7 separate regions of the Homo sapiens genome follow, and regions 1, 2, 3, 4, 5 and 7 are each linked to region 6. The links are contacts of gene promoters, found by promoter capture Hi-C in blood cells and fetal thymus (Javierre and others, 2016). All regions are on one chromosome and are shown on one strand. The core of a region is centred on a gene start or on the middle of the fragment in contact, and the rest is flanking DNA. Distances in the headings are between cores, read along the strand shown.

The links. The method cuts DNA at HindIII sites, captures the fragments that hold promoters and counts their contacts. A CHiCAGO score of 5 or more calls a contact.
Region 1: a contact is called between a fragment that was not itself captured here and the fragment with the promoter of KCNK9 in region 6, in 7 of 17 cell types (megakaryocytes, fetal thymus, M2 macrophages and 4 more). The highest score is 9.0, in megakaryocytes.
Region 2: a fragment that was not itself captured here is called in contact with the fragment with the promoter of KCNK9 in region 6 in 3 of 17 cell types (megakaryocytes, monocytes and fetal thymus); the score reaches 7.0 in megakaryocytes.
Region 3: a contact is called between a fragment that was not itself captured here and the fragment with the promoter of KCNK9 in region 6, in 3 of 17 cell types (erythroblasts, M2 macrophages and naive B cells). The highest score is 6.3, in erythroblasts.
Region 4: a fragment that was not itself captured here is called in contact with the fragment with the promoter of KCNK9 in region 6 in 2 of 17 cell types (fetal thymus and megakaryocytes); the score reaches 5.6 in fetal thymus.
Region 5: a contact is called between a fragment that was not itself captured here and the fragment with the promoter of KCNK9 in region 6, in 4 of 17 cell types (naive CD4 T cells, M2 macrophages, M0 macrophages and 1 more). The highest score is 5.4, in naive CD4 T cells.
Region 7: a fragment that was not itself captured here is called in contact with the fragment with the promoter of KCNK9 in region 6 in 1 of 17 cell types (megakaryocytes); the score reaches 6.1 in megakaryocytes.

Annotation. Positions count from the first base shown.
Region 1 is chr8:140,355,970-140,359,570 of GRCh38, reverse strand. All of the region lies in intron 9 of TRAPPC9 (trafficking protein particle complex subunit 9), which reads left to right. Among named protein-coding and RNA genes, the nearest start is that of TRAPPC9, 100 kb to the left of the region's middle. RefSeq lists a silencer at 730-789. The HindIII fragment of the contact is 4,499 bases long and covers 1-3,601 here.
Region 2 is chr8:140,435,572-140,439,266 of GRCh38, reverse strand. TRAPPC9 (trafficking protein particle complex subunit 9) reads left to right here. Exons shown (of 23, transcript NM_001160372.4): 3 at 70-215. Among named protein-coding and RNA genes, the nearest start is that of TRAPPC9, 20 kb to the left of the region's middle. The HindIII fragment of the contact is 3,285 bases long and covers 1-2,893 here.
Region 3 is chr8:140,314,616-140,317,853 of GRCh38, reverse strand. All of the region lies in intron 9 of TRAPPC9 (trafficking protein particle complex subunit 9), which reads left to right. Among named protein-coding and RNA genes, the nearest start is that of TRAPPC9, 140 kb to the left of the region's middle. The HindIII fragment of the contact is 1,703 bases long and covers 715-2,417 here.
Region 4 is chr8:140,333,205-140,336,560 of GRCh38, reverse strand. The region is part of intron 9 of TRAPPC9 (trafficking protein particle complex subunit 9); the gene reads left to right. Among named protein-coding and RNA genes, the nearest start is that of TRAPPC9, 120 kb to the left of the region's middle. The HindIII fragment of the contact is 1,398 bases long and covers 1,114-2,511 here.
Region 5 is chr8:140,295,276-140,298,741 of GRCh38, reverse strand. All of the region lies in intron 11 of TRAPPC9 (trafficking protein particle complex subunit 9), which reads left to right. Among named protein-coding and RNA genes, the nearest start is that of TRAPPC9, 160 kb to the left of the region's middle. The HindIII fragment of the contact is 1,154 bases long and covers 759-1,912 here.
Region 6 is chr8:139,700,779-139,704,374 of GRCh38, reverse strand. It overlaps KCNK9 (potassium two pore domain channel subfamily K member 9), which reads left to right and starts at 1,252. Exons shown (of 2, transcript NM_001282534.2): 1 at 1,252-1,665. The coding sequence starts at 1,383. RefSeq lists a silencer at 1,235-1,529. The HindIII fragment of the contact is 15,596 bases long and covers 1-3,596 here.
Region 7 is chr8:140,374,267-140,377,684 of GRCh38, reverse strand. All of the region lies in intron 7 of TRAPPC9 (trafficking protein particle complex subunit 9), which reads left to right. Among named protein-coding and RNA genes, the nearest start is that of TRAPPC9, 82 kb to the left of the region's middle. The HindIII fragment of the contact is 8,881 bases long and covers 1-3,418 here.

The DNA.
Region 1 (3,601 bases), core at 105-2,604, 660 kb before region 6:
CACTGGGTAACTCCATCCCCCCTTCCAGAACCAAAGATGAGGTTTGCATGTGTTGGCTCTCATGGGGCCACGCGGTGTTTCTGCCCCTGTTTCAAGGTTGCCTTTCTCCCGGGCTCCTTTCTTGGCCTTCATCTTCTCTTCTTACACTGCTCCTGGGTGCTATCTGCTTTTTGAGTTTTAGTCATGACCTGTTTCCCTACGCGCTTGGGGCTCAGCTGCCCCAAACCTGCCTTCCTCCTTGTACCCCTGGCCCTGGCCCAGTGTGTGGTGCCAGCTGGGTTCTTGGGGAAGTGCTGTCTGCTGGGGAGACTGATGTGTGCAGAGTGTATTGGGACGTACTCATGGGATCAGCCCCGTAGAAGGGAAGAGATGGAGGCGAGACTGGACAGTGGGAGAAGCTGGGCCTCAGTGCTATATGGACACAGGCCTCAGCTGCACGGGGAGCCCTGCACTGCCGTGGCCTGCAGACGTGTCCCATGTTGTTCTGAGGGGGCCGGGCCATTCTCCTCCCTCACTGACCAGCAGTTGAATGCAGTCTACCCTGGGTGATGTGGTTCTCTTCAGCAAGGAGACAAGGCTTCTGCTGACCCAGCAGGGCCTGTGCAGCTGGGAAGCCGTCGGAGAGATCTCTGGCGATGGGAGGGCCGGGGCTTCCTGTCCCCGTGCCAGGCCCTGGGTGCTCACTGCTCCCAGGAAAGGGTAGGGTCTTGATGAAGGGCTCTTGCCCGTCAAGGACAACTTCTGGGGAGGCAGCACTCTCCCCTGGGGAACGGGCCTCTCCTCCCTGCAGGCCGTCTGGGCGACTCATTACTGCCCCCTGCAGTGCTGTGCCGTCACTGCTGCTGTCCAGGTGGCGACCCCACTCCCTCAGTCTCATGTCCTGGCACCTCCCAAATTTCGTGCTTCTCTGTTTTCACATTTCTAAAAGCAGCACATCTTTCTCTCCAGCCCTCCACCCACTGCTTTCCCCTGGCTGTTCTCTGTCTTTGAGCAGGCTCTGGCTCCAGGGTAACGTGGGGTGTGCATCTCTGAGGGTGGTTGTGAGGTTTAAATGCACTAATTCTGGCCGGATGTGGTAGCTCATTCCTGTAATCCGATCTCTTTGGGAGGCCCAGGTGGGCGGATCACCTGAGGTCAGGAGATCGAGACCAGCCTGGCCAACATGGTGAAACCCCGTGTCTACTAAAAATACAAAAAATTAGCCAGGCATGGTGGCAGGCCCCTGTAATCCCAGCTACTAAGGAGGCTGAGGCAGGAGAATAACTTGAACCCAGGAGTGGCGCTTGCAGAGAGCCAATGTTGCGCCATTGCACTCCAGCCTGGGCGATAAGAGTGAAATTCTGTCTCAAAAAAAGAAAGAAAGAAACCTAGTATACATTAAGCAGTCCTCATAAAGCCCATCTTCTCACTGCACCTGTTGAAACACTAGCATTCTTTAAAGGAAACATTGATTTCCCTACAGTGATTTCCACGGCCATCTCTAAGAGAAAGGAATTCTCCTTTCGTGAACCCCTGTGGTTCTTTGTTGCCAAGGTTCTGAAGGCACACACCACTTATTGTGGCCGTTGGCATCCTCGTGTGGAGTAGCTGTTGTTTTCTGTTGAGGACTTCTGGTGACCCAAGTGAATCTCTGCTCTGACCGGGGCCCCTGCGACAGCCGTGCAGCTCCTTTTCTGCGTGTATTGGGTCGCTGTTGCTTTTGGGGCTGCATTTGAACTGTGCTTTTCTTGATTGTACCTGCAGAGTGAGCAGGTGGCCAGCAGGGCCACCGTGGAAGCTGGCTCCATGGCCCATTTGCACTCCGGCGTTTCGGTGACGGGAGGGAGCAGCAGGCCGAGGCAGAGCTCCCAGAGCCACCCGTGTCTCCTGCTGGGGTGACTGTGGCTCAGTGGCGGCTTGGGCAGTGGTCTGGTGTTACCTGCTCGAGTGAATGTTTGCTCTCCCCAGCCCCTGGGAGTGCTGCCCACCTCCCCTACTCCCCTGGAATTTCTTGAGCCTCCCCGTGATCCAGCAAATCTAAAGAGGTAGTGCCTGGACTCTGTGTAGGGGCTTAGAATCTCGGGTGCCATCCCTGACCCATGGCATGTCCCTCTGCCCCTGTAGCCAGGACTCTGTTCTCTCCTGGTGGCAGTGTCCCCACATACCTCACCTCAGTAAGCACAGTCCCCACGGTTGGTGAGTTGTGGTGACACGGCCCTGAGCCCTTCGCCTGAGCCGTCAGTGTCACTCCTTCGCCTGCTGTGTCTGCTGCATCTTGAACTTCTTCAGCACACACCTTCCTTCCCACAGCAGGGCCGGTGCACCTCCCCTGTCCCCACACCCTGCCCCTTCACCATGTGACTCCTCTTGGGCCTGGCCTCCTCTTGAAAGCCTTCACAAGTCCCTAGCTAGACCAGGGACTCTGGGCCTCTGCTCTCTTTCTTCCTGCACTTGTCGGTCATCAGTTACGTATTTAGTTGGTCCATGCTTGTCTCCCTCCATGGGAGAAAACCTCATTCTGCCTGCTGTCTACCTGGAGCTGGACCTGGCAAAGGCTAGATGCCAAGTGCATGGCTGCTGAGGTGTGAGTGATGTTGTCACAGCCCTTGCCTTCATCGTGATTGCTTATGGGGAAGTTGATTCTGACTTGGGTCCTCAGACATTTTTCAAAAGCACATTCTTGGCCGGGCATGGTGGCTCACTCCTGTAATCCCAGCACTTTGGGAGGGTGAGACGGGCGGATCACCTGAGGTCAGGAGTTCGACACTAGCCTGGACAACATAGTGAAACCCCATCTCTACTAAAAATACAAAGATTAACCGGGCGAGGTGGTGCACGCCTGTAATCCCAGCTACTTGGGAGGCTGAGGCAGGAGAATCGCTTGAACCCGGGAGGTGGAGGTTGCAGTGAGCCGAGATCATGCCACTGCACCCCAGCCTGGGTGAGACTCCAGCTCAAAAAAAAAAAAAAAGCACATTCTTTTTACAAGGAACACATGTGTGTTTGTACACTGTATGTGTGTGTATACGTATGCTGCATCGTGTTTTTCTGTTGGAGTTTGTATTTCTCAAGGGCATGGGCCATATCTTCCCCTTTGGGTACCCTGCGGTTTCCATGGGACATGGTGAGATGACTGAGCGTGTATGCAGGATCAATAATTGGAGTGACCCATTCCACTCTTCTGTGTCAGGCTGATGAGCCGACTGTCTCCACTCCAGACATGTGAGGCCTTGTCTTATTTTGATGACGGCACTGAGAAGTAGATTGTGTTTCCCAGCCCCACGTGCTCGGAGGTTGATGTTTACACGTGTGTCCATGAAATGGCCGCCGGGAAGAACAGAGAGTGGACGAGCACATAGGGCTCTCTGTTAATTGCTCTGTTGCTGTGTTTCTTTTTTTATTAATAGCATTCATGTATTGTTGATGAGCATCCCCGTGCCTGGGAGTGGTGGTGGGTGTGTGCCTGCCTATCTCCCCTGCCCTTCCTGTCCAGAACTCAGTGTCAGCGTTTTTCTCCAGGTGGCAAAGAAAACCTCTACAGGAAAATACAGCGAGGGTTCTCATTGATGCTTTAACCTCTGCCTTCCCCACCGTTTTTTCTTATCCTGTTTATATTTTTAAG
Region 2 (3,695 bases), core at 2-2,501, 730 kb before region 6:
TGCTTAGTCAGAGTGCTTTCTGGGTGGGAGTTGTATAGTAATAAAGATACATTTTCATGTATTTTCTAGACATTACAAGAAGCGGTGCCAAGGCCGCATGCGGAAGCACGTGGGGGACCTGTGCCTGCAGGCAGGGATGCTGCAGGACTCCCTGGTGCATTACCACATGTCGGTGGAGCTGCTGCGTTCTGTGAATGACTTTCTGTGGCTTGGAGGTAAGATGAGCTGATGAAGATGATCTGATATGTAATTGTTTCAACTGTTAATTAAAATGAGAGGCTGGGTGCGGTGGCTCACGCCTGTAATCCCAGCACTTTGGGAGGCTACGGCAGGCCAAATATGAGGTCAAGAGATTGAGACCATCCTGGCCAACATGGTGAAACCACGTCTCTACTAAAAATACAAAAATTAGCTGGGCGTGGTGGCACGCGCCTATAGTCCCAGCTACTCGGGAGGCGGAGGCAGCAGAATTTCTTGAACCAGGAGGCAGAAGTTGCAGTGAGCAGAGGTTGCACAACTGCACTCCAGCCTGGCAACAGAGCGAGACTCCATCTCAAAAAAAAATAAAATAAAATAAAAAAAGAAATGAGAGGAAACGGCAGAAGAAATTCCCCAAAAAGAAGGGATGAGGGAGGAAAAGCAGCCAGCCTGTGCTGGTTGCCACGAGCAGTGGCCTGGGATGCTTCCCTGCTGTATCTGCTGCCCTCCTCCCACCCTGCCATGCGTCCTCTGAAGGAGGCCCTGCCCACACTTTCCCTTTTCCTCTGTTCTTAGTATACCTTGCCCTCTGCTTTGGATGCCGTTCCCCATGATCTTCACCTCTTAGACTCCTCCCTCAAAACCTCCTCCATGTGTCACATGATGAATGGATAAACGAAATGTGGTATGGGCATACAGCGGAATATTATTCAGCCATGAAAAGGAGTGAAATTGTGATACCACTGCAGCACGGATGAACCTTGACAACTTTGTGCTAAGTGAGAGAAGGCAGGCATGAAAAAGGCCGCAGATTGTATGATTCTATATATATGAAGTGGCTAGAATAGGCAAATCTATAGAAGCAGAAAGTAGACAACTGGTTCTAGGGGCTGGGAGGAGGGGGAATGGGAAGTGACAGTTAACGGGCATAAGGTTTCTTTCTGGGGTGATGAAAATGTTCCAGAGTCAGTTAGTGGTGATGGTTGCACAGTTGTGAATATACTAAAAACTGCTGACTTGCACACTTTAAGTGGGTGAATTATATGGTATGTGAACTCTATGTCAATCTTAAAAATTAAAAGAAAGGGAAGAAGAAATCCTACTTCAAAGCACAGCCATCTCTGATCCCCCGCAGCAGTCGGCAGAGCGGGTGCCCTGCCTGAGATGTTGCTGACACTTCGTGGTGGAATCGGATGTCTGTGTGTGGTCTTCCCTTTGGGGACTGCGCCTCCTGGAGGTGGTCCTGGGAGGATGGACTGGCTGAGTCCATTGTGTGGGTAAGGACTAAAACAGGGTTCTTTCGTTGAGGTTGACAGTTTAGCAAGGACACCTGTCAGCCACTTATGATAATACAAGTCGGAATGAAGTAATGAGGTGAGTTCTGTAACAGAAGTTTAACGAGGTGCCGTAGAACATATTAAATATAACAAATTCTTTCGTTCTTGGGGACGGAGTCTCGCTCTGTTGCCCAGGCTGGAGTGCAGTGGCATGATCTTGGCTCACTGCAATCTCCGCCTCCTGGGTTCAAGCGATTCTCCTGCCTCAGCCTTCCGAGTAGCTGGGACTTACAGGCATGCACTACCACACCCGGCTAAATTTTCTATTTTTAGTAGAGACGGGGTTTTGCGATGTTGGCCGAGCTGCTCTTGAACTCGACCTCAGCTGATATGCCTGCCTTGGCCTCCCAGAGTGCTGGGATTACAGGCATAAGCCACTGTGCCCAGCCAAATATAAGAAATACTTCAAACGGCCAGGCATGGTGGCTCATGCCTGTAATCCCAACACTTCTACAAAAAATAAAAAATAAAAAAATCTTACTTCACCTCACTTCTACAAAACAAAATTAAAAAACATTAACTGGGTGGAGACCAGCCTGAGCAACATAGGGAGACCTCACTTCTACCAAAATAAAATAAAATAAAATAAAATAAAAAGACATTAGCTGGGCTTGGTGGTCTGTGCCTGTAGTCCCAGCTACTTGTGAGGGTGAGGCAGGAGGATCGCTTGGGCTCAGGAGGTCAAGGCTGCAGTGAGCCACGATCGCACCACTGCACTCCATCCTGAGCAAGAGTGAGACTTTGTCTCTTAAGAAAAAACCAAAATAAAACTTAAAATGGACTTAAATTTAGTTTTTTAAAGAGGCTAGGGAAATAGAAGTGGGGAAAGAAAGGGAGTAAGAATTAGGGATGGAAAAGAAAAGAGAATCAGATAAAGGATTATGCAGGCTGAGAAAGACATAGTTTTACTTGGTTTTCTTGAAAGAGCATTGTCTCCCTAAGTACTCCTTATTGTATCAATTAGAGAATCTGTGCATCTCCCAGTGGGCTCTGAGACTAGGGCATGTGCAGCAGGTGCTTCTCCAGAAAGACTGGTACTGCCCATATGCCTTCCCCATGCGGCGCTGGACTGGATGAGGAGGGCTCCTAAAGGGCACACAGAGAAGGACGGTGCTGTGTGCCGTGGGCCTCTTCCATGCTCAGCCTCTCAGAAGTGGACAGTGGAGTTGTCCACAAGCTACTTAGGCCTGACATCACAGCAGACTGAATGTAGAAGCTGATAGAAGATCCAGCTGACTTGTATTAACTCTGATATTAAAGAAATGTGTGAACATGTCAAATAATGCCATTCCTCCAGTACTTTATTTTTGTTTTGGAAAACAATTATTTTTCATAAAACTGTTAACACATGACAAGCTTATTATTTTATTTTTTATTTTTATTTTTTTGAGTCAGTCTCACTCTGTCGCCCAGGCTGGAGTGCAATGGCGTGATTTCAGCTCACTGAAACTTCCATTTCCCAGGTTCAAGCGATTCTCTTGCCTCAGCCTCCCGAGTAGCTGGGGCTACAGGTGTGTTTTATCATGCCTGGCCAATTTTTGTATTTTTAGTAGAGTCAGGGTTTCACCATGTTGGCCAGGCTGGTCTTGAACTCCTGACCTCAAGTGATCCACCCACCTTGGCTTCCCAAAGTGCTGGGATTACTGGCATGAGCCACTGCGTCTGGCCTATTTTAAGAGGAATTAATACATAAATACTTAAATCCTTTTCTCAGTTTTATTTTCCAATATGGTAAATATCTACAGGTGTAACCCACATCACAAAAAAAGCTCTTTGTGATCCTAAGTCATTTTTAAGAGCATCAAGGAGTTTTTAGACCAAAAGTTTAAGGAGCACTGAGTTAATGGATAAAGATGATAGAGATGAATACTGTGGCACACCTTCTAAGGCATGTGGCATAGCTGGAGATTATTAGGTTGTTACGTCATGAGAGAAGAACGGACTGTGTAGCGAGTTAATATGGCTGTTTTTGAGGAAGAGGGAGGACTACAACCTCAAAAGGAGCAGATGCCTATGGGGTGCATGGTCTGGAAAGGCATTCTGGTCTTGCTTTGGTGCTATTACTGTGAAATATTTTCAATCCAGGGCACTTTCTGTTATACATCTCTGTAGCTCCAGAACCTGGCGCAGTCTGCCACACAGTTTGTGCAGGAATGCCGG
Region 3 (3,238 bases), core at 317-2,816, 610 kb before region 6:
TATTATATGCCTATTTTGGATAAAAAATAATGAAGTTTGTTATTAATATATACCAGAATCCCTTGCCTTAAAGATTTTATAGTCTAAAGAACATAGTACAATATTTGGCACATCGTAAGTGCTCAGTAAATGTAATTGTGGGTAGGGACATGACTTTCTTCCTTTTAAGGAGCTTATAGTCCAAATCTTTTATTTTTCGTTGTTAAACTTAAAAAAAAATTAAAGCAGAAATCACTTATAATCTTATCACTGTGAAAACTTTGTAAGTTGTCCTGTCCTTTGTAAAGCCCTTCAGAGACCATGAGAATCCAGTAGCAAAGAGCACTTCTAGCCTCTGGGTTTTAGTCTCTAAACACTTCTTTCCACTAAAGGGAATGAGAGCTCCTTGGAGAAGTGATTTAATTCTAGGCCTGGGGCTGGATATGAACCAGAAACAAAGGGATCAAAGAATAATGGGACCTTATCCAAAGGACACAGGAACCAACCAGAAGGGACTCCCACTGGCCAAAGATGGTGCCTACATCAAAAAAGAAGAAAGCTTTCAAATAAACAGTCTAACACTGCATCTTAAGGAATTAGAAAAACAAGAACAGACTCAACCAAGGTTAGTAGAAAGAAGGAAATAATAAAGATCAGAGTGGAAATAAATGAAATAGAGATGAGAAAAACCATACAAAAGATTAATGAAATGAAGAGCTGGTGTTTTGAAAAGCTTAACAAACCTTTAGCTAGATTATGAAAAAAAGAATAAATGTCAAATCAATAAAATCAGAGATCAAAAAGGAGAAATTTACAACTGATAACACAGAAACATAAAAGATCACAAGAGACTATTACAAACAATTATATGCCAACAAACTCAGTGACCTAGAAGACGTGGATAACTGCGTGGACACATACAATCTGCCAAGAATGAATCATGAAGAAATAGAAAATCTGAACGACCAAAAACGAATAAGAAAATTGAATCAGTAATAAGAAGTCTCCCATCAAAGAAAAGCCCGGGACCTGAGGGCTTCACTGCTGAAACATTTAACAAAGAACTAGTACCAATTTTTCTCAAACTACTTCCAAACTCATTCTGTGAAGCCAGCATTACTTTGGTATACTAAAACCAGAGAAAGACACACCATCAACAAAAGAAAACTAATCTCAAAAGACAGATATCCCTGATGAAGATTAGATGCAAAAATCTTCCACAAAATACTGGCAAACAAAATTCAACAGCACATTTGAAAGATCTTCCACCATGATCAAGTGGAATTCATCCCAGGGATGCGAACATGGTTGAACATAGATGTGACATATCACATTAACGGAATGAAGAACCAAAACCATATTATCATTTCTATAGAAGCAGAAAAAGCATTTGACAAAATTCAGCATCCCTTCATGATAAAAACTCTCAACAAATTAGGTGTTAAGAATACTCACAAATAGTTTCCAAATTCTGGAAGAGTCAGGTAGAATGAAACAAATATGTTCTAAATTTTGTTCATAGGAGTACACTCAATCATTAAAAGCTGTTAATAGCTCAAAAGAAAAGTTTCCTTGACTCTGAAAAAACAAAGGACCAGCAACGTTTTAAGCAAAAAATCAAAAAGATTACTTCAGTCTTGTATTAGTTCAGTCTGTAGTTAATTCCCATTCTGCTTGATATTCCTGAACATTTCAGTTCTCCATGAGTCCTGAAAGTTTTTCTTCTATTCTGATGTCACAGTCTCCAAAGTTATCAGAAACTTGTATTCAACAGCACCTGGTAGAGTTTTATAGCTGATTATAAAACCACCTTCTAAAGACCAAAACAGACAACAATTGTCTGTGGATGACAAAAGGTTTTAGGGCAGCCATAGTCAAAGATACAATCCATAAGGAAATTTGTTACCTCTGTGGCACACAATAATTTAACATAACAATTATAATTATTACTGATAATGTACACTAAGTCATATCAGAATTATAGGAGTTTCCCATGATTTTGGAACACATACCAATAACATATTTGTGTAAATATAGCCTAAAGAAAACTAAACACCATTTCATATTTGACAGTGTTTCCTGTGTAATTTTTATACCAAATAAGACAAATTATGTCACTTTTGGACTTTAGGGAACCTAGTATCTTAAAGGATTAATTAGTTCAGAAAAAGATATAATTTATAATTTGATTTTGGAAAGGTCAAAGGTTTAAAACACTTATATCACAGATCATTGTAAAATAAGTCATTCATTTGACCAAAGTAATAACTCAAGGATTTTTTTAGAAAGGTGAAAACCTTCGTTCTTTGAGAAAGAAGCCTTAATTTTCCAAACAATATTTCCTAATAAAATAGCATGAAACCAATTAAATTTGTTTTTCAAAATTTTATAAACTATAAAATTTTAATCTTGAACACAAGATATAACTTTCATAAGCTTTTTATAATCTTTATAACCTTTACTAAGGAGTTGGTTAATGCTTCAAGAAGACCTTGTTAATCTGACACAGGGGCTCATATGCTGGTCTTGCATCAGTGTGTCTTTGACAATAATGATTAATTTATAGAGAAACTGAACTTATTTTATCTCTCAAAATCAGCCCTTAAATCTCACATGCCCACCAAAAAAAAAAAAAAAAAAAGACATACAAATGGCCAAAAGATGTATGAAAAAATGCTTAACATCACTAATCATCAGGGAAATGCAAATGAAAACCGCTATGAGAGATCACCTTTCTCCAGCTGGAATACCTATTATCAAAAAGTCAAAAGATGAAATGTTGGTGAGGAGGTGAAGAAAAGGGGTTCTTTACACGCTATTGGTGGGAATGTAAATTAGTACGGCCATTATGTTAAACAGTATGGAGGTTCCTCAAAAAACTTAAAAATAGAACCACTGTATGATCTTCCATTCCGCTACTGAGCATATATCCAAAGGAAATGAAGTCAGTGTCGAAGGGGTGACTGCATGCCTGCATTTATTGCAGCACTGTTCAAATAGCCAAGATACGGAATCAACCTAAGTGCCATTCAGCAGATGAATGGATAAAGAAAATGTGATATAGATACACAGTGGGATACCATTCAGCCATAAAAAAGAATTAAATCCTGTCATTTGCAACAACACAGATGGACCTGGAGGGCATATGTTAAGTGAAAAAAGCCAGGCACAGAAAGACAAATCCCTCATGGTCTTCCTCAGGTGTGAAATTTTTAAACGTTTGTCTCATGGAATTAGCAGAATAGAGGTTAGAAGAGTC
Region 4 (3,356 bases), core at 563-3,062, 630 kb before region 6:
GCGTTACTGGGGCCTTGATCTTAGTGAGATGGACCTCGCCTCATTTTACTGTGTTTCTTGGGGCTGGGGAAGGGCAGGAAATGAAAGAAGTGGTGCATTTTCTACATATTTCCAGTGGCCCTCAGTTTTGGTGTTGCCTTTCTTTGCCTCCCTGTTCACATCAGCTGTCTCTCATTTGCCGCAGAGCAGAGCGTGGTGCAGACAGAGGCAAGCCAGGGTTGGGAATCTCGGCTGGCTTGCAGCCACAGACTATACACAGTAGGAATATCTGTTGAACAAAATCTTTTGTTGTTGTAACTGTGATCATTATGTCATAAATAAACAAGGGGCTTTTACTGTAATTGTTAAGTCCCGTGACCTCAGGGACGTGACACACAAGTATGCTTCATCATGGGGGAGAAAACTGAGCAGATGGAAAAGAAATTTTGGTTTCAAAAATTATGAAGTTAGTTATACATCAAAAGTAATAATTTGAGTTGTGAAAAAAAAAGGTTCTTAAAAATAAGGAATTACACAGTGAGTCATTGAGATTATAAAGTTAAAAAATATTGTTGGCCAGGTGCGGTGGCTTGCACCTGTAATCCCAGCACTTTGTGGGGCCAAGGCGGGCCTACCACTTGAGGTCAGGAGTTTGAGACCAGCCTGGTCAACATGGCGAAATCCCTGGATCTACTGAAAATACAAAAACTGGCCAGACATGGTGGCGGGAGCCTGTAATCCCAGCTACTCGGGAGGCTAAAGCGGGAGAATCGCTTGAACCCAGGAGGTGGAGGTTTTGGTGAGCTGGGATCACGCCACTGCACTCCAGCCTGGGTGACAAAGCGAGACCCTGTCTCAAAAAAAAAAAAAAAAAAATTGTGAAGACTTATGATGGGACTTAAGAGTGAAGCTCTTGATATATTCAAAATATAACAAAAATTTGCTCATGATTTCACATGGTTATATTTCCACTCCTGACCTCTGAACTTCAGTTTCCCAATGAAGGCTGGATTTGTCTCCTGAATGTCTCATAGGATCCTGCGGTTACCATATCCTCAGCTGAATTCATTCTCTTTTCCTTCTATGTTTCCCGTTTGAGTTAAGGGTGTTGGCATTTTCTTAGTGTGGGAAGCTTAAAACTTTGTCAGTCATCCCCAAGTTGTCATACTTATCCTGTATCCTATTAATTGCCTGGAATGCCCATTCTAATGCCTGAGTTTCTCTCATGTGGGGATTTCCCCTCTTCCCATCGTGGTCATGACTGTGGTTCAGACTCTCAACACCTATACTTGGAATAGTGCAGTAGACTCTTGACATCATGGTCCTGTTCCCTGGCTTTGCTCCTTCCAGCCTGTGCGTCACATTGCGGCCGGAGTTACCTCCTTAGAATGCAAGCTAAATCACATTCTCTTCCTTAAGAATCTGCAGTGTCTACCCTTTGTCTATCTAGTAAAGTCTCAACTCTTTCTCAAGGACATTCACGATTTGATTCAAACCATCTTTCTCAAGGACATTCACGATTTGAGTCAAACCATCTTTCTAGGCTCATTGCATACTTTTTCTATCCATGTAACCTATACTTCAGATACACTGAACATTTTTTGCTTTTTAAGTGTATCACATGGTTTTTCATGCTGCTTCTATTGTAGCATGCTCTGTTCTTGTACTTTCCCTGTTTCCTGTTATTAAGAAATTAATTTATTCCTCTGCACCTCCTTATTATCTTGCTTAGTTCTCAATTCAGCATCATTTTATTATACCTTCAGAATAATTTACCTATCCGATTCCCTCACTAGATTACAGACTCCTTGGGGACAGGGATCATGTCTGTTCACCTTTTATCTTTTATCATTTTGGGCAATGCTACTAGAAAGTAGTCAATACATGTGGAACTTATTTATTTATTTATTTATTTATTTATTTATTTATTTAGTGACAGAGTCTCGCTCTGTCGCCCAAGCTGTGGTACAATGGCACGATCTCGGCTCACTGCAACCTCCACCTCCCGGGTTCAAGCGATTCTCCTGCCTCAGCCTCCCGAGTAGCTGGGATTACAGGCATGTGCCACCACGCCTGGCTAATTTTTGTATTTTTAGTAGAGATGGGGTTTCACCACGTTGGCTAGGCTAGTGTCGAACTCCTGACCTCAAGTGATCCTCCTGCCTTGGCCTCCCAAAGTGCTGGGATTATAGGCGTGAGCCACCTTGCCGAGCCATGGAACTGATTTAATTTCACATTGCCTTTCTCAAATTATTTCCTAAAATGTATCAATTGAGACTCCACCAGGCAGACAAAGGAATTACGAGATTTTGCTGTTGTGCTTGAAGATGTGGGACTCCAGTTGAGCGATTTAAGATAGGCTTCTTCCTTATAGAGGGTGGATATTCAAGATTTGTTTGTCAAATGAATATGAAGTGAAATATGAAATAGTTTTAGAATAAAGGGAGATGGCTGAGCATATTACACATGAGAGATTGTGGTGGAGAAGTAGAAGGCACACTGAACTGAATGGGGGTGAGTTCTTTCTAAGCTTCAATTTCTCTCATCTGTAAACAATGGCACTTTTTTGGTAAGGTTTTGGGAATCATTTAGTAAGGCATATGTAAAGTGCTTGGACTAGTGCTTGGCATGTAGTAAGACCTCATTAAATGTCAGTTATCAATGCAGCTGTTGTTTGTAAAACATCTGTGTTACACTGGGAAGGGCTATAAATTCCCTTACTTTAAACTTCCACCTTTGTGGAAATGAAGGAAGTTCAAAGTTTTCTTATGCCATTGACATTTTATGATACTATGTTCTTCACTCATGGGGCATTTATAAACAAACCCTGATTTTTCGTTGTAAAACCTTTTTGAAAATTCAATTTTGAGCATTTAAAATATAGTTTTTATGGCCAGGCGCGGTGGCTTACGCCTGTAATCCCAGCACTTTGGGAAGCTGAGGCGGGTGGATCACCTGAGGTCAGGAGTTTGAGACCAGCCTGGCCAACATTGCAAAATCCCGTCTTTACTAAAAGTATAAAAATTAGCTGGGCATGGTGGTGGGTGCCTGTAATCCCAGCTACTGAGGAGGCTGAGGCAGGAGAAGCTTGAATCTGGGAGGCGGAGGTTGCAACGAGCTGAGATCGCACCATTGCACTCCAGCCTGGGCGACAAGAGTGAGACTCCGTCTCAACAACAACAACAAACAAAACAAAAACCTATGTATCTATATCTATATCTACATCTATATCTATATCTAGCTATCTACATATATATAGTTTTTATTATACAAGTAATATATGCTTCCTTTAGAAATCTTGGAAAACATAAACAGGAAAAAATTATGCATAATCCTATATAGGCAAGCCCTGTTAACATTTTAGTGTATTTCTTTTG
Region 5 (3,466 bases), core at 86-2,585, 590 kb before region 6:
ATTTCATGTTCCTGGCAGGGCATGGTGGAATTCAAGGCAGAAGGGACAATAAGAGCATTACGTGTAGCACATCATCTTTTTTTTTTCTTTGAGACAGGGTCTAGCTCTGTCACCCAGGCTGAAGTGCAGTGGTATAATTAGGACTCACTGCTGCCTCAACCTCCTGGGCTCAGTTGATCCTCCTGCCTCAGCCTCCCGAGTGGGTGGGACCACAGGTGCATACTACCACACCCACTGATTTTTGTATTTTTTGTAGAGACGGAGTTTTGCCATGTTGCCCAGGCTGGTCTCGAATTCTTGGGGTCAAGTGAATCCCCTGCCTCGGCCTCCTAGAGAGCTGGGGTTACAGGTGGGGACCTCTGCGTCCAGCCAGCACATTGTCTTGATGAGCATTTCTCATATATTACTAGCTCTAGGATTTCTTAGCTTCTGTAAGGGTCTCATAATAAACTTCATTAACAATTTGTAAATTATCCGAATGCCTTAAAAAATAAAGTGCTTCAGAGGAAATAAAGTTGTTTGCTGAGATAAAGGGCATAACTAGGGTAGGAGTACTCAAAGAACCTTGTGCTTTTAAAAATGGTAATCATTTCTTTTATTCTAGTTGTGCTTTATAAGAGGCTATCATATGTTACCTTATTTAGTTTTTCCAGTATTTTTGGGAGATTTCATTTTTATCTCCCTTTTACAGATGAGGAAACAAACTTAGAGAAACGACTTTTAGAAGTAACTAAAAGTTACTCAGTTAGTGACAAGCTTGATTTCACATCACAGACCACGTGTCCTGTTCCCATTAGTACCCTATGGTTTCCTCTCACGTGCACAGTAGGTGTGGGACAGACCTATTACCTGGACCTCACAGTCCTCACCCTCGGCTGGTTTTTCAGTTTAGTTCATGCAGGCAAGACACAAACGTGAGAAGTTGACTATCGAGACTAAATGTGAATAAACGCTCTCTAAAACTGTACATCTGTCAGCAGGGGTACCTGGTTACTTACACGTTGAACTCGAATGAACAATAAACACTGGGCTAACTGGGAGTGGGGTGTGGGGTGGGGGCCCCGCAGACCCTGGGGAAGCCCTCTGGAGGCTCAGACACAGCCTCCATCTGAGGAGCCGTGTGGGCTTTGCAAGGAGTGGCTCCAGCTGTTCTAGCTGTTCACTGTTAGAATGAGAAGAAAATAAAGAGACATGGGGTCATGCCCTTGAAAAACTGCAGTCAATACTGTATTTTGGAAAATTTCTGAAAATGTGAGCACTAACTATATAATCTACTCTAGAATTTGTGTGTATCTGTATGTGTGTATGTGTGTGTATGCGTGTGTATATGTGTATGCATCTGTATGTGTGTATGCATGTGTATATTGTGTGTATGCGTGTATGTGTGTGTGTCTATGCATGTGTGTGTATGAGTGTGTGCATGCATGTGTGTGTGTGTATGCGTTTTTAAAATGCCATTTTTAGTCTATTGATTCTGAAAGACACCCCAATCTTGTCTCTCCTGCCACTGCTTCTCTGATCTGGAGAACATGAGGTGACAGGAAGTGTAGGCGCTGGGTAGACGTGGTGGATGAACAGGCAGGGCCTGATGGCAGCCCCAGATGTGCTCCAGCGTGTGTTGCGGTAAGCAGGAGAGAGCTGTACAAATCCTGTCCTCACTGTGTTTTGGGGACGTCGTTTCCTGGCCTCCTGTGGGAACTCCACCTTTCCTCTCTGGAGGGCGTCTTCCGAGCTCCGTGGGGATGGGCAGGCCACCCTCAGGGCTCCTCTGTCTCCCCTGGCCCCGGACTTGCTGTCCTACGAGTGCTCAGGCTCTTCCCCCTGGGACCTTCTAGAGTCTCTGGCTGCTCTTTTGTGTTCTCATTGGGGTTGGTGATGAACTGTCTCCCCTACGGAACTTTTGAGGAAAGCTTCAGTTCTTTCGTTGAGAAAAACTTCCAGAGGTGATTTAGGAGACTGGAGGTGTGAGACTCCTCTTCTCAGGATGGGCCATGTGATTTGTGGGGCCCAGTGCAAAATGCAAACATAGGGCCTTTGTTCAAACATCACTAGGAATTCGAAGACAGCAACAGCAGAGCGTGAACCCAGATGCCAGGGCACAGGGCCCTGTGCCACTGATGGCATGGATTGTAGGCCCTGCCTCTCTGCTTTTCCTTTTCAATCTTAAGAAATTGTTGGCCGAGTGTGGTGGCCCACGCCTGTAATCCCAGCACTTTGGGAGGCTGAGGCTGGTGGATTGCTTGAGCCCAGGAGTTCGAGACCAGCCTGGCCAACATGGCAAAACCCCATCTCTACACAAAATACAAAAAAATAGCCAGGCCTGGTGGCGGGCACCTGTGGTCCCAGCTAGTTGGGAGGCTGAGGTGGGAGAATCACCTGAGCCTGGGAGGTCGAGGCTATAGTGAGCCAAGATTGTACCACTGCACTCCAGCCTGGGTGACAGAGCAAGACCCTACCTCAAAAAACAAATAAAAAGACATTGTCAAAGATTCCTTTTGTGAAAATTACAATCTGTATTTGTTGAAGAGGGCTTAAGCAAACATTATCCAGTGATTCTCAAAACTATTTGATGCTGATGCTGCCGGCATTATTATATTCCCTATTTGCAAATAAGAAAATTAAGACTGAACGAAATTTAAGTACCTGCCCCAGGTCAGATAGCTTATCAGTGACATTCCCCGGGCTCCATGCCAGGTTGCAGGACTCGATGCCCAGGGCCTTTTTTCTTTATAGTATGGCTTCTCACCATAGTAAGAAGTACCTGCTCATCTGGGCTGAGGACAAATTCAGTGGATGATGTAAGATTTTTTTCTGAGATATAACGCAAGTTTCAGCCAAAATGCACATTATTTGTTTGGTAGGAAAATGCAATTTATATCCCATAGCTTCTAATATCTTTTTGGCAGTGTACTGATCAGTGAGTGCTTGTGCAGAAGCTTGACAGATCACATAACTTTAACCTAAATTTCCAGTCTCTCTAAATGAACCTCGGTGTATAATTGGGGGAGGTATCATCACAGCAGGTGGCATAGGGTTTTGGAGATGAAGAAACTCTTGAGGGTAGTGTTTGAGACCATTTTCCACTTTAACTTGGGATAGTTCACGAGTCTTTGTGTGTTGGCTGGTGTGGCCATCATCTGAGCTACATCCATGCAAAGATGACTGCAACACTGGCCTCAGCTTGAGTGTGTTGGGTTGAAGGCCTTCTGTCATTTGTGATAGGTCTTTGTGGTGCTGCCAGGCTTAGTGCCAAGGTCGACTGCTGCCCCAGAGGCAGCGTGGTGGCCTGGAGAGGCTGTGGCTGTCAGGTGGACTTGGGCTGCACCCTGGCCCTGCAGCTCCCCACTGTGTGACCGTGGACAGCTGATTGTGCCTCTGTGGTCTGCAGTCATGCTATCTGCAGAATGGGGACATTAGAAGCTGACACGGAGGGTGGTTTTGAGGATCAAGGGAGATAATGTTTCTA
Region 6 (3,596 bases), core at 3-2,502:
CCCTGGCGGCTCAGGCCGCCCCTCCCGGGCTCCCTCCGCGTGCGCCCTGCGCCGCGCTGGGTCTGCAGCGGGAGCTGCCACAGCAGCCTCGCCAGCTGGCTGGGGACCAGGCGGGAGGTGGCGCGCCCTGGAGGCTGCGGGAGGGAGGGAGGGAGGGAGGCCCGGCCTCGGCGTAGCCCGGCCCCCGCTCCCCGAGGCCCTCCCGCCGGAGCGGGGCTGCCAAGCGCACACACACACACACACACACACGCACATACACACGCGCACACACACATTCGGGCTCCCAACGGCGCGCACGCACGTAGCGCCCGGGGCAGACCAGCGCGGCGGCCGCCTCCCGGGACGCCCGGACGCCGGAGGGCCCCGACCCCCGCGCGGCTCATGCGCCCGCGTCCGCCCCGCTGCTCCGCGAGGCCCGCGGGACCCCTCCCGCCGCCGCCGCCGCGCCCGCCGCCCCCGGAGGAGCGGGCTGGCCGACCGCCACCGCGCCGTCCCCCGGCCGCCCCCGAAGCCGCTCCATCGCGGTCCCTGCCGTCCTGGGGCCGCGCCCCGCTCCCGCGCCTTGGGGGTTGAGCCGAGCAAACTTCGCGCACCGGCCGACGCCCGGCGGGGACCCCGCTGCGCACCCGCGCGCCCGGGTGGGCGCTGGGCGCGCGGACCTTTGGGGAGCGGGCTGCCCCTCCCGCTGCACCTGCTCGGCCCCCTCCCCGCTTGCAGGGGACTCCAGAGACACCGCCACTTCGCAAACTTTTCCTCCCCACCACCGAGAGGGGGCGAGGAGGGGTAAAAGGGGAAGCAGGTTCCGCTGGGCGCGCGGACCTGCAGGCTCCTTGCTGGGCACCGCCACCCGCGAGCTGGACCCACAGGGGTACCGGGCCCCGCGGCCGCCCTCCGGCCGCTTTCTGGCTCCGGTTCCCGTCCCTGCGTTTCCCGCGGGAGCGGGGGGCGGGGTGCGGAGGGCAGCAAGGCCCGCGCGGTACCCAGCGGGGCCGCCCTGCATGGCCCTGCGCAGTGGGGCGGGCTGCTTCGGCCGGGTCTGGCGCAGGGTGTCGGGGTTCCCGGACGCCTGGCCCCGGCGCTCGAGCAGCCTCCTGTGCCTGTCCGCCTTCTCGGCTGAGCCCGGGCCCGCGCCGCCCCTGCCCCGCCAGCCGCCTCGCGGTGGCGGTGGCTGTGGCGGCCCCAGCGGAGGGGGCCCCCCCCAGCCTCCCCGCCCCCCGCCTCCCCGCTGCTGCTGCTGCTGCTGCCGCCGCCGCTTACAACTTGGAGGCGGCGGCGGCGGCGGCGGAGGAGGAGGCGGCGGCGGCCGCCGGGCGCTGCAGTGGGACGCGCGCGGCTGTGAGCCTGCGGGACATGCCCCCCGCGCCGGCTCCTTGCTGGCGGCCATGAAGAGGCAGAACGTGCGGACTCTGTCCCTCATCGTCTGCACCTTCACCTACCTGCTGGTGGGCGCCGCCGTGTTCGACGCCCTCGAGTCGGACCACGAGATGCGCGAGGAGGAGAAACTCAAAGCCGAGGAGATCCGGATCAAGGGGAAGTACAACATCAGCAGCGAGGACTACCGGCAGCTGGAGCTGGTGATCCTGCAGTCGGAACCGCACCGCGCCGGCGTCCAGTGGAAATTCGCCGGCTCCTTCTACTTTGCGATCACGGTCATCACCACCATAGGTAAGGGCTGGGCGCGCCGCTGGGCTCCCGCGCCCCGGGAGGAGTCCGGGGAGGCGGCTGAGCGCGCCGCGCCGGGCTGGGTGCAGGGCGTCGAGGGTTAAACGCAGCCTCCCTTGGGGGCCTTCCCGCAGCGCCCCCTCCTCTCTAGGGAGCCCCCCCTCCGCGGCGCCTCCGAGCCTCACCCTTCGGGGACCCCACCCGGTGCTCTCCACCGCGCTGGTGTCTGGGCCGGGCGTGCGAGCCCCGAGCGAGTGTGCCTGAGCCGGGAGGGCGGAGGCGCCACTTTTGCGAAGAGAGTGGAGCGCTAAGAATAATCCCATAGCAGACACCCACCCACCCACCGCCCCGGCGCGGGCTGGGCTGCGCGGGGCTCTGAGCCTTACACTTACTACCTCTCTGGGAGTTGGAGAGGGCTGGCCTGGCACCCATGGCTCCTAGAGGGACTCAGGTGGCAGGGGAGTGCGCCTGGGGCGTGAGAGGCACTGACCCTCCGTAGCCCCTGGGCCCCGCTCCAGGCTTCTCTGAGCTCAGATTTCATCTCTCTTCCCCCCGCCCGGCTCCTTTTTTCCCCTGAGTTCCAGTTCTGGAGCTTGGACTTCCCAGGCCCCTGGGAGGAGAGAGTTTGCTCTCTGGTGCTTGCGTTGGGGGTGGCAGCCCCTCAATTGCTCTCAGTAGAGGTGGAGAGTGGGGGCAGGGCAGAACCTGCCCACTCCCTAGGCTGTGACACTGGGAAAGGCCAGTCTAGACATTGCCCAGAAACCAGGGAACTTGAGCCCCAGTCACGAGAGGGGGTCCAGCTGGTAAACTGCAGGGATGCCCGCCAGCCCCACTGCCAAGGGCGCTATTCACAGAGCAGGGTCTCTGGTCGGTCCCGAGGGCAGTGTCCCCTCTAAGGCTGGGGGCTGGGAGGACTCCCGGACGTTATACTTGGAGACCTGTGGGAGCTGGGGCAGGTACCTTCATTCGGGTGGACGTGGTGGATACCCTGCATGGCAGGAGGCAGGGTGGTGTCTCTGTGGTTCACTTGCCCCAGTGAGGCAGGCTGCCTCTCTAGGGCCATCTCCTTGGACTTGCCAAGGCCAGTGTGTTAGTGGGGGTGGTCTGTTTCCTGCACCCCTCAGGGCTTCACACCCCTGTGCCCTGGGCAGGGACCTCCTCCTTCCCCCCTCCCTTCTTCCCAGCTCCTCCTGTCTCGCTTCTCTGGACCTCCTCCTCTAATTTCCCTCTTGATATTTTTCTTTGTCTGGAAATCTCTGCATACTGAAAAAAAAAGGATTTCTCAGTGCCATATGCAACAGGAAGCGCCAGCACAGGACGGCCTGTCTTTCCTTCTTGGTTGAAAATACTTTTTAGAGAGTCATCTTGTTTTAAATGTTTAATTCATTGGTGCAGGTTTTTCTGTTTGTGAAGGAAATTGTCCTTCTGTTATCTACATAATCAGCTTGGCTCTTGCTTGCCCCACGCCCTTTGCCCAGCACCCCAAACACAGATGACTCCTTCCCTTCCCACACTGTGTTTCCAGCTTCTGAGAGGGCCAGTCATTGCCATTTTCTCTGGCTTTAAACTGTGGCAGTGGCACGCAGATGCACAGGGCAGTGATTCTGGGAGACAGGGGCCTGTTTGCTGGAGAGCTGGAGAGTAAGAAATATGCCTCTGAAACTGGCCACCCCTGGGGAAAGGAGAAAGCCCCAAGGCCCTTAAACATGCCTTTAGGGTTGAAGATGGAAGACAGGTGAATTTGGCTAGCATGCTGGCTTCCAGTAGTAAAACAGGCACATAAAATGCTTGGCTGATCCCGAGAGTTGAGCGACAACATCGAGGAGAGGATTGGTGTTAAAAGCAAACTCTGAAATGTGCCAGTTTTCCTTAAGAAATGCATTGTGGAGACTGATGAAGTTCTTACTGAGGTGTGTTTCCATGGTTGATTCTGA
Region 7 (3,418 bases), core at 791-3,290, 670 kb before region 6:
TGTTTAATTGGCTTTTAATTTCAGGCTGCATGAGTTGTCATTGGAGGGACTAGATTTTATGGAGAACAGACTTAAAGAAACTCAGAACTTGGCTGGGTGCAGTGGCTCATGCCTGTAATCCCAGCACTTTGGGAGGCTGAGGCGGATCACCTGAGGTCAGGAGTTTGAGACCAGCTTGGCCAACATGACGAAACCCTGTCTCTACTAAAAATACAAAAAGTAGCCGGGTGTGGCGTCGGGCACCTGTAATCACAGCTCCTGAGGAGGCTGAGGCGGGAGAATTGTTTGAACCTGGGAGGCAGAGGTTGCAGTAAGCCGAGATTACGCCACTGCGCTCCAGCCTGGGCCACAAGGGTGAAATTCTGTCTCAAAAAAAGAGAAGAAAAAAAAAAGAAACTGAGAACTCTGGTATGGAAAGATGAATGTGGAGAAAAGCTGTAGTCAGAGTTCAAATCATCTTTAAAGTACACATGAACTCGCTTGCTCACTAAACCCAAAGATGGTAAAATAGGCAGTATTTCTTGAAGCCAAAGGAGTGGGTTTTTCAGGTTATCCAAGAATGAATCAAAGGCTGGAACTGAGGTGATCAGGGGTCAAGCGCGGACTTTGCTTGGCCATCTCTTTTGGATGGTGCACTCAACAAGGGCACTGACTGTTTACAAAGTGTCCTTCCTCTAGCATGTGGTGGGTATACCTGGTAGTCTAGGAACCTTCCAGGTATCTGTCCAAGGCATAGGGCACAGCATCCCTGTTTCAGCCATCTCTCCATCCATCTTCTTCCCAACACTGTGATTTTTTTTTTTTTTTTTTTGAGATGGAGCCTCGCTCTTGTTGTGCTGAAGTGCAGTGGCGCGATCTCGGTTCACTGCTAACTTCCACCTCCCAGGTTCAAGTGATTCTCCTGCCTCAGCCTCCTGAGTAGCTGGGACTATAGGCACCCACCATCACGCCCGGCTAATTTTTATATTTTTAGTTGAGATGGGGTTTCACTATGTTGGCCAGGCTGGTCTCGAACTCCTGACCTCAGGTAATCTGCCTGCCTTAGCCTCCCAAAGTGCTGAGATTATCGGCATGAGCCACGTTGCCTGGCCTCAACACTGTGATTCTTTTTTTTTTTTTTTTTTTTTTTTTAGATGGAGTCTTGCTCTGTGCCCAGGCTAGAGTGCAGTGGCGCAATCCCGGCTCACTGCAAGTTCCGTCTCCCAAGTTCACGCCATTCTCCTGCCTCAGCCTCCCAAGTAGCTGGGACTACAGGTGCCTGCCACCACGCCTGGCTAATTTTTTGTATTTTTAGTAGAGACGGGGTTTCACTGTGTTGGCCAGGATGATCCTGATCTCCTGACCTTGTGATCTGCCCACCTCATCCTCCCAAAGTGCTAGGATTACAGGCGTGAGCCACCGCGCCCGGCCTCCAACACTGTGATTCTTTATGGACCTATCTCCTCTACTACTTCATGAAGTTTTGAGGGACCAGGTCTTATTGAAGTTTTTGTTTTGTTTTGCTTTGTTTTCATTCTTACTTTTGAATGATTAAAACTGAAAATGGATCCAATTACTTTAGACAGATGCTTTATAAAGGAAAATCCTTGGTGCATGCCTCATACCCCTACTCCGGGATATGAGAAAGTAGGTTATGTTTTTAACAAACTTTTTTGATAGACATATATGGAAAGTTTGTATAATTTTGAAGATGTATTTTCTCTCCATGTAATTATGGCTGGAAATAGCCGGAGAGAGGAGCAGAGTGTGTTTTCAAACCTGGGAATGTGTGGGGCCTGCTGTTTCCCATCCGGCATTCTCCCACGGTCATCATTTAGTTGAGTGCGGCCACCAGGCTGCCCCTACACATCTGTCACTGACTTGTTCTTCTGATCACTGCAAGTGCCCACGTTTGAGAAGGCTGATGAGGGTTAAGGCATTTTCTAGAGCATCAGTGGCTGGTTAACTTGGGGTTAGAACTTGTGGTGTCAAAGGCATTAACTAACAGTGATATTTCTGTTTCTTGAACACTCACTGAGAGTTTTAGGCTTATGCTCAGTGTTTGCATTATTTCATTGAGTCTTTTTGACAATCGTAATTAGATTTGATGATCCCTGTTTCTTAGGGATATGCAGATGTGGCCCTGGAACTCAGGACTTTACAGCTCCAGGCTGTATTCCTCCCTCTCCATCCTGCCAGAGACAAGTCCTGTGTCTGGAGTTTCCCTCTGATCTTGTCACTTTATTTCTTATTAACAGAATAAAGCAGGTCTAAACTTACTTTCTACTTGGAAATGGAATGGTGAGTTAATATTTGGATCCCTCAGAGTCTGCCTTGTGAATAAAGCTCCTTGTCTTGAGTAGTCTTGGAGCCACTTTCGTTGGAACCTCACATAAACATCTGGGCCCTGAACTTGGACTTCGTGACTGTGCAGCCTATTGAAAGATTAGAACAAAGATGTGCTGATTAATATGCCCTAAAAGAGCAGCAGGTTGGAAATGAGTTTGGGGATTTCATCTCATTTCAAGATTTCCTGAGGATCTTGGCCTAGCTTTGCCAGGGACCATTTTGTACTCCCCGGCTCCTTGTGCCATAGGTGCCTGTGTCGACCAAACATGGCTTTGTCCTGAGGCTCTCTGGGCTCATGGCTTCTCAGTCAATTGTCTGCCTAGTGCCCAAAAGCAGTTGCGCTCGAGCTTTTCCCATTAAGGAACCGTTTTAGGGCTTTAAAGTGATGTCAATTCCATTTGCAATGTAGTATTTATCATTTGACTTCTTATTACACTGAAATGATAAGAGGAATGAAGTAATATTATTACTGATCATAGTATTATTTACAACCTTTCATCTTAGATAGGTTCCATGAAAGAATCAATGGGAGTTCTAACGCATTGGTGGCCAAGGCATGTGACCTTCCCCGGCTGTCACCTTTATTTTAGATGGTGACCTCTTTACAGGCACTGGCTAAGATCAGTATTCGTCTTCTCTGCCCCCTTCTCTGCCCCAACATCTTTGATCATGTCTGGCACATAGTGGGTGCAGCTGAAGGTCTGGGCATTTCCAGATTTGTGATGAAGGCGTTAAGTACCCCCACCTCTTCTTTTTCTTTTTTTCTTTTCTTTTCTTTTTTTTTTTGACATGGAGTTTCACTCTTGTTGCCCAGGCTGGAGTGTAATGGCACAATCTTGGCTCACTGCAACCTCCGCCTCCTGGGTTCAAGCAATTCTTCTGCTTCAGCCTCTCAAGTAGCTGGGATTACAGGTATGCACCACCACGCCTGGCTAATTTTGTATTTTTTAGTAGAGACGGGGTTTCTCCATGTTGGTCAGGCTGGTCTCGAACTCCCAACCTCAGGTGATCTGCCTGCCTCGGCCTCCCAAAGTGCTGGGATTACAGGTGTGCGCCACTGCGCCCGGCCAACCCCTGCCTCCTCTTTACA